Regions from separate parts of the Homo sapiens genome. Here all the other regions are linked to region 3. The links are contacts of gene promoters, found by promoter capture Hi-C in human tissues and cell types (Jung and others, 2019). All regions are on one chromosome and are shown on one strand. Each heading gives the region's core, a stretch centred on a gene start or on the middle of the fragment in contact. The rest is flanking DNA. Distances are from core to core; before and after follow the strand shown. Region 1 has its middle 56 kb from the start of SPATS2L. Region 2 has its middle 35 kb from the start of SPATS2L. Region 3 holds the start of SPATS2L (spermatogenesis associated serine rich 2 like).

What was found. The method cuts DNA at HindIII sites, captures the fragments that hold promoters and counts their contacts. A contact is called where the count stands out against the background at its distance.
Region 1: a fragment that was not itself captured here is called in contact with the fragment with the promoter of SPATS2L in region 3 in 1 of the 25 tissues and cell types used here (IMR-90 fibroblasts).
Region 2: a fragment that was not itself captured here is called in contact with the fragment with the promoter of SPATS2L in region 3 in 4 of the 25 tissues and cell types used here (IMR-90 fibroblasts, liver, mesendoderm cells and 1 more).

The regions. Positions count from the first base shown.
Region 1 is chr2:200,249,317-200,252,047 of GRCh38, reverse strand. No RefSeq gene overlaps it. Among named protein-coding and RNA genes, the nearest start is that of SPATS2L, 56 kb to the left of the region's middle. The HindIII fragment of the contact is 5,249 bases long and covers 1-2,731 here.
Region 2 is chr2:200,270,772-200,273,546 of GRCh38, reverse strand. No RefSeq gene overlaps it. Among named protein-coding and RNA genes, the nearest start is that of SPATS2L, 35 kb to the left of the region's middle. The HindIII fragment of the contact is 4,614 bases long and covers 1-2,775 here.
Region 3 is chr2:200,305,296-200,308,074 of GRCh38, reverse strand. SPATS2L (spermatogenesis associated serine rich 2 like) reads right to left here and starts at 1,382. Exons shown (of 13, transcript NM_001100423.2): 1 at 1,153-1,382. RefSeq lists silencers at 418-747, 768-1,497 and an enhancer at 1,908-2,007. The HindIII fragment of the contact is 4,989 bases long and covers 1-2,779 here.

The DNA of each region.
Region 1 (2,731 bases), core at 139-2,638, 56 kb after region 3:
AGAGTTGAGCTAGCATTTCTTGTGAAATTGCTTTTTAAATAACTTATTTTTATGGAGGCAATCTAATGTTATATGATGTAGAAATTAAATTTTACTAACAAATATTGAATTACTATTATTTTGTTCTTAAAGTCAGAAGGAAAGTCCTACCAAAGCCAGAAAATATCATGTTTTAATACAGGTGTTTAATAGATTTAATCTTCTCTGAAAATAAGTAACATTTAAACAGAAAATAATTCTTGAAGTTCACAAGTTCCTAAATCTGTAAGACTTAAATGGCTTAAGGGCCAGCCAGAGAACCTGGATTTCATCAGGCAGACAACAGCAAGGAAATCATGTAGATGAAAACCCCCATTAACTCGTCATTTAGCATTAGGTATATCTCCTAAAGCTATCCCTCCCCGCTCCCCCCACCCCACAACAGTCCCCAGAGTGTGATGTTCCCCTTCCTGTGTCCATGTGTTCTCATTGTTCAATTCCCACCTATGAGTGAGAATATGCGGTGTTTGGTTTTTTGTTCTTGTGATAGTTTACTGAGAATGATGATTTCCAGTTTCATCCATGTCCCTACAAAGGACATGAACTCATCATTTTTTATGGCTGCATAGTATTCCATGGTGTATATGTGCCACATTTTCTTAATCCAGTCTATCATTGTTCGACATTTGGGTTGGTTCCAAGTCTTTGCTATTGTGAATAGTGCAGCAATAAACATACGTGCGCATGTGTCTTTATAGCAGCATGATTTATAGTCCTTTGGGTATATACCCAGTAATGGGATGGCTGGCTCACATGATATTTCCAGTTCTAGATCCCTGAGGAATTGCCACACTGACTTCCACAATGGTTGAACTAGTTTACAGTCCCACCAACAGTGTAAAAGTGTTCCTATTTCTCCACATCCTCTCCAGCACCTGTTGTTTCCTGACTTTTTAATGATTGCCATTCTAACTGGTGTGAGATGGTATCTCATTGTGGTTTTGATTTGCATTTCTCTGATGGCCAGTGATGGTGAGCATTTTTTCATGTGTTTTTTGGCTGCATAAATGTCTTCTTTTGAGAAGTTTTTCATGTCCTTCGCCCACTTTTTGATGGGGTTGTTTGTGTTTTTCTTGTAAATTTGTTTGAGTTCATTGTAGATTCTGGATATTAGCCCTTTGTCAGATGAGTAGGTTGCAAAAATTTTCTCCCATTTTGTAGGTTGCCTGTTCACTCTGATGGTAGTTTCTTTTGCTGTGCAGAAGCTCTTTAGTTTAATTAGATCCCATTTGTCAATTTTGGCTTTTGTTGCCATTGCTTTTGGTGTTTTAGACATGAAGTCCTTGCCCATGCCTATGTCCTGAATGGTAATGCCTAGGTTTTCTTCTAGGGTTTTTATGGTTTTAGGTCTAATGTTTAAGTCTTTAATCCATCACCAGCATGGCACATATATACATATGTAACTAACCTGCACATTGTGCACATGTACCCTAAAACTTAAAGTATAATAATAATTAAAAAAAAGAATAAGGAAATAAGGAGGCCACCGGGCTCATCTAAGCCTTCAGCTAGGCAAGAAAAGGACCTTTGGAGGCTCACATTCATTCTGTTCCTTCTGTTTACCACAATAAGATACAGCACAGGGTATTTTTTTTTTCAGTCGAAGTCTTGCTCTGTTGCCCAGGCTGCAGTGCAGTAGCACAATCTCAGCTCATGCAACCTCCATCTCCCAGGTTCAAGCAATTCTCCTGCCTCAGCCTCCCAAATAGCTGGATTATGGGCACATGCCACCATGCCCAGCTATTTTTTTGTATTTTTAGTAGAGATGTGATTTCACCATATTGGCCAGGCTGGTCTTGAACTCCTGGTCTCAAGCGATCTGCCTGCCTTGGCCTCCCAAAGTACTGGGACTACAGGTGTGAGCCACCGTGCCCAGCCAACACAGGGTAACATGGTCAAATCCTCAGCTGGCAATAATAGCATGCACGTTTGCCTTAATTGTCCTTTCCATCACAGTTTTTCCTTGGCAACCCAGGTGACAAAAAGCAGCTGGCAAGTTATTCAGATCTCTGCATTACACCGTCACCTATCAGAACTAACAGCATAGACATTACAGATGAGGAACAGCCTCAGAGTAGTTATGAGACAGGACTGCTCTTCCCCCTACATCCTGTTTCAATTACTTTTCACTCACTGAGAATGTGAAAAATAAAATGAATGTTTTAAAGAAGCATACTATATGAAAATACACATTTTGATTATTATTTATTCCTTGGTTGAGAGGCAGACTTTTAAGGTAAATTGACTTTAAGACAATCAGGCAATGCTAAAGACATAAACCAGCCTTAACATTTAAATAATAGGAACATCCTATGACCACCTCGACTCATTGATTTGTCATGTTCACTTATTGCTTCTTTTTCTCCTTCCAGGCAATTTTCTGGAAAGACTGAAAAGTTTTTGTTCTCATTTTCTTCAATATGGCAGTAATCCTAAATCTTAAAGCAATAAAAATAGACATTATAAATTCAAAAAAAAAAAAAAAAGAAAAAGAAAACCCCCATTTCCTTCCCTGAAAGGGAGAGTGACTTGTGGATTACCTAGATCATTGTCTCAGTTCTCTACCTTTAAAGATTACCTGAGAGATAAGCCAGGATAACATGAACGTATTTAATGTTGTTTAGTTCTCTAAATTCTTTAACAACATAAAGAGATTTACCTTTAATTGCGTCAGATCACCAAGCCAGGACTT
Region 2 (2,775 bases), core at 95-2,594, 34 kb after region 3:
ATAGAACTCTAGTGGTCTTAAAAATAGATTACCGACTGCTCCTTTTTCCATCCACACTCTTCTTTTGTCATTCAAGGCAGTCCTTAATACACTGTGTACGCACTTGAGATAGGTCCAAATAAGACATGTACTAACCTACACCTAATAAATGTTAGGTTGTTGCTGCTTTCATTAAGCCAAATTTTTTTTTAATTAACTGAACAGTTTATTATTTTAGTTATTTCAGAGCCATGGTTTTGCTACGTGGCCCAGGCTGGACTCAAAGTCTTGGGCTTTTTAAACGATCCCCCACCTCAGACTCCCAAGTAGCTGAGATTACAGGCATGGGCCACTGCACCAGCTAAGCCAAATTCTTCTGTTAGGATAGCGTGCCATTGAGTGATATTTGGTAGACAAAAATACAGAGGAATATAAGCTTCTTAGGAGGCAGAATTTGGTTTCATGTTTATTTCTGCCATAACAATGAACATACAGTGTCTAGCACACGAAGGGCCTAAATGATTGTTTGTTAAGTAGGCCAACATGTCCTTTGGGGTCTTGGTAAATCCAATAGCTAAAGAATCTACATCTTCTGAGAACGTCCAGTTCTCCCAGACTCTTCCACACCAGAAATCCCATTTTTTTTTTCCTAAAGGATTTCCTTTAGCTAAAGACCTTGGGAAGAGTCTAGGCAGGTAACATACGAGATTGGCAAAGTGTGATGGCTGATGTTTTAGGGTTAGGCCTGATTTTAAAGTTTCTACTTTTCAATAAAATTTCCAATAAATTCGGTTACCTCAGTGTGATGGTGAATTTTATGTGTCAACTTCACTGGCCATGGAGTACCCAGATTAAACATTTCTGGGTGTGTCTGTGAGGGTGTTTCTGGATAAAATTAGCGTTTGAATTAGTGGACCCAGTAAAATAGGTTGCCCTCTTCAATGTAGAGGGACATCATCCAATCACAAAACGTGGAGGAAGGAGGAATTTCCACTTTTTGCTTCTTGCCTTCTTGTTTGAACTGGGACTTTGGTCTTCTCCTGCCCTTGGACTGAGATTTACATCACTGGCTTATTTTGGTTCTCAGGACTTTAGACTTGGACTGAATTACATGACTGGCTTTCCTAATAGCATGAGCCAGTTCCTCATAATAAATTTCTCTCCCTTTCTCTCTCTCTCTCTGAGAGATATATAGATATATGACAGACTGCATATAGTTTCTTTGGAGATCCTTGACTAATATACTCAGGCAAATTATTTAACCTCTTGGATCCACAGTTTCCCCTGGTAGTATTATCCTTAGTGAAAGGGTAATAAAAATATCTGCTTCACAGATTGATAGGAAGAACAACTGAAATAAAATTTGAGAAAATTGGCACATAATAATAGATATTGTTGAGGGAGCAGAGACAGGTACTGATAGGTGGACCAGAAACAAAAGAACCTAATATGGTAAGGGGTTGAATGGGGAAACCAAAGGCCCAGAAGACAAAATTTATTTATTTAAGTTTGCCCACTATGATGTATTTGTGCTGTTGTGACTACAAAATCTAAAATCATTGGTAGAGAAGATATATCCATTAATCAATTAATTGCTGCCAATCTTGCACCCCAAGGGCACAGCATCTATGGTTTGGTCACAGTATATTTTTTAAATTCATCTAGTGGCATCATAAGAAAATTTCGGGGATAGCTATCAAAATGAAACAACAATCACTCTGAGAGTAGATGCTAAAAAACTAACCGCAGAGTTGAGAACATCTTTGAGGGGGCACACCAGTTAGTGGCATTTGTATTAAGCTCAAAGATACATTCATAAGCTTTACTAGAATATGAAAATTTTAGAGAAATAGCATAGTATTAGACCTTACTTTTATAGTTACTAGAATGTAAAAATTCTCCCTAGAGACACAACCCTCCCCTCTATGGCTTATGCTGAATTAAGTGGTACTATATTTGAGGAAGTTTTACATTTTCCTCAATGCAAATCTATTTTAAGGTCAGCTAAGCTCAACCAAAAATAAAAGCCCAGCGTGGGCCTGCTGCTAATGCTTTCTACGTTGCATTTATAAAAGAGCTGGCTGGCTTATTGCTGTGTATTGGTATCTAGTAGAATTGTTGTTATATGTTGATTATTTCTGTGTTGGTCAACTAGGAACTACAAATGTCTATGCCCTGACAACGATTTTTAGCTGTATGTGACAAACTTGTAAAGCATGGGACTTACAGTTTTGAAAACATTTTGTACTGTGATTTTAGAAAAGAATACAATCTAAAATAACACACAGAAAAATTCAGTTCCACATTAGTCCTCCGTGGATCTGCACGTGGTTTTAGGATTGGCCCAGGGTTACTTCCAGCTCAGGTTGTCTCTTTTCTTCCCTCCCACAGGTCTGGGAGATTTGTCCCCTCTCTGGTTTCCTCTGGGGGAAAAAGGAAAGGCATACTTGAGATAATGGCAGAGAAGTTTTTAAATAATTACAAAAATAATTTTACCATGTACTCCTTTGGCAATTGTCACTGGTTGATAATGCCTGGTGGCTCTGCAACCCCCAGACCTCTCACAATCAACATGGCTAAAGCTTGAGTTAATTCTTTTCCTGCCAAACCTGTTGATTCATCGTTGCTTACTAATCTGTGCTGATGGCACCATTTCCACCCTGTCAACCTGACAAGAAACTTGAGTTACCCTTGAGTAGTCCTTGTCCTTTATATCTAATTGACCACCAAGTCCTTCCCCAGGATATATCCAAAAAGTTTTTAATTCCATTCTCCCTCTCCATTATCATTGTCATT
Region 3 (2,779 bases), core at 133-2,632:
TATAAAACCACTTTCTCTGCACAGGTTCTAAAATTTCACAGTCGTTTGTCTTAAAGTCTGTCGGCTTGTGAGGGGGCTGGTACATATTTTAATATTTAAATTTCAAAAAATAAGCAATGAGACTGTGTTTGAAGTTCAAGGGTTTTCACTAGTTCTCAAGCTACAAACCCTGTAATATAGCCAAAAGAAAACGTACAGAAAGAATCTTTCACGAAAAGTGTCAGGTCTCCAAAACCCCGACATCTGCTAAAACCAGGATTGCGGGGGGGATGAGAAGCTCGTGAAGTTCAAAAACACACCAACCCCGCGGGAACACGAAACCTCCACTCGCGAAGACGCGACGCTTCCGCCGCATCCCCGCGCAGGTGAAGACTCGGCCCTTCAGCCCCGCGTGTGCGGCAGCATGATATTCAGAGTGCGCCGGCGTCCAGCGCGAGCGCATCCTACGACAACCCCGTCTCCCGCTGGGGTCCGCAGCCCGCGGACTCCGGGGTCCCCCCGCCCAAATGCGGCGGCGCGACCGCTTCGTCCCGCGGCCAGGGCGCTCCGCGTCTGCTCCGGCCACCCCAGCCCACCCGCGCAGCGCGGACGCCAACGCATCCCACTCCCGCTGGGCGCCAGGGGCGCGGGGTTCAGTGGGGCCGCGGCCCCCGCACCCGGCTGGGATCCGAGGGCGGGGTGGTCGCGGCTGACGTGGGCTTTGCGGCTCCGGGCCAGAGAGCAGCCTGGGGGACGGTGGGTCTCTTTCCGGCTTGGGAGGGAACGGGGGCGCCCGCGCGGGAGGACGGCAGGCGAGGGACGGCGGCCGCGGGCGATTCAGATCCGGGGCGGGCGGGTACACGTCGGAGCGCGGCGGCCACACGCTCGCCCGGGGAGCGCCACTGTGCGTCCCAGCCGGCGCCTCCTCCCGCTTGCCCGCGCCGGCTGGAGAAAGGAAGGACGGCGACCTTCGCGTCCGGTCCGCGCCACCAGCCCGCCTCGGCGCCGAGCGCGGGCCACACCCAGCGCTCCGGGAGGCGGCGGAGGCTGGGCGGCCCGGGCTGCGGAATGCTCGGCCCAGCCGAGTCTCCGTCCCGGCCGCGCAGGCCCCTCCGCGTCCGCCCGCGCCCTGCATCCCCAGCCGGCCCGGCGTGGAGGGGGTCCTGGGCTTACCTCTGTGTCGAGCGCCGGCTCCTCCGTCCCGGGCCGGAGCCGGGGCCCGGGGGCGCGGTCGCCAGGGGAGGCGCCGCGGCGGTGGCGGCCCCTGCGGCTCGGAGGGCGGGCCGAGCGGGAGCCGCTGCCTGGGCCGCGCGCCGTCCGGAGCTCGCCCCGCGCTGCCGGCGCTTGCAGCGGAGGGCGCAGCCAGCTCGGCCCCCGGACTGGATTCCTTCACTGACACAACTCCGGCTCGGCCGCCCCACGCAGGGACACTCCCGCCCCTCGCAGGCTGCCCCCGCCCGCCGACCCGCCCGCCTTCCCCTCGGTGTCACTCACCAGGAGCACACACCCCAGCCGGCGCCCCTCGCTCCCGCTCGCAAACACAGCGCTGCTCACGCCTCTCTCGGGTTTTGTATCCGCTCACACGCACGTTCTGACACAGATCTCGTCCCTCCACACGCCCTCCCTAGCTCCTTTCCCACCCCACTTTCTAGAAGAATCCCAGTACAGCTTCCGCACTTTGCTTGCTTGCTCCAGACCGACTTCCTCGCCTTTCCCCAAACCTCCACTTCACCGAAACTCCCCTTGTTAATGAAAGATTTTGTCACAATCCGCACGTGTTGCAAGAGAATCATCTTCTCCTACCCGAGAAAATGAACTTTGCTCCCTCAGCACTGTCTGCAAATACGAGATGTTTTTCCTTTTAGAAGGTAGTAATGCTTTCTGGAGAGGATCCAAGCTCAAAATGTAAGCAAAGATAGCCCATTCGAAAATGACCTGAAAAATCAGGCGCGGAAAAAGTGCTGGAGCTCGGGTCAGCCCTTGGAAACCCGACCAACCCGGGGTGTTCCGCCGCCTCCTCTGCGCTGCGGGTCTGCACACTGGGCTCCAAACGTGTGTGTAATAACCAAGTTACACATGGGCATCGTGGGCTTCAGCCGTGGGTTTCTGCCTGGGAGTACAGTAGTCGGGAGAGTAAAAGCAGTTTCTCAATCATTATTCATGATGGAAGCACTTTAGATAACACTCTTCTTCCAGAGGCAGTAGAGTGAAATGCAGGCAGCTCTCCAATTCAGGTTTTTATTTATTTATTTATTTATTTATTTATTTAGAAGGGTGACTTCTTAGCTTCCTTTTTTTTTTTTTTTTTTGGCAATACCAATAACTGTTTCTGAGTGGCTCCTTGGCTGTCAAGCTCCTTACAAATATCAGACCAGAGTTTGTTATGCTTCTCGAGCTCCAGACTCTAATGGGCCTCCGAGGGCACTGCAGAATCGTACATAATCCGATGTTCAGGAATTCATAATTTGAAATAAAATACAAACACCTTTCGGATAAAGTTCAAATCTGCTAACATAATGTGGCCCTGTTGACAACGCACTGCTGAAATAAAGAGAGGAGCTAAAACGAAAGGAATTCATTTTCTTATGTGACTTGGAGTGGTTCTTGCTACCTTATAGTCGCCTTGGATTGGTGTGTGGATAATATAATTTATTTAACAGACATTAGCAAGTGCTTTATAAGTACTAGCTCATTTAATCCTTGGAAGAACCCCATCAGGTAGGTACTACTTTTGTCCTGTTTTACAGATAAACTGAGGGCTGGGCCCAGTGGCTCACACCTGTAATCCCAACACTTTCGG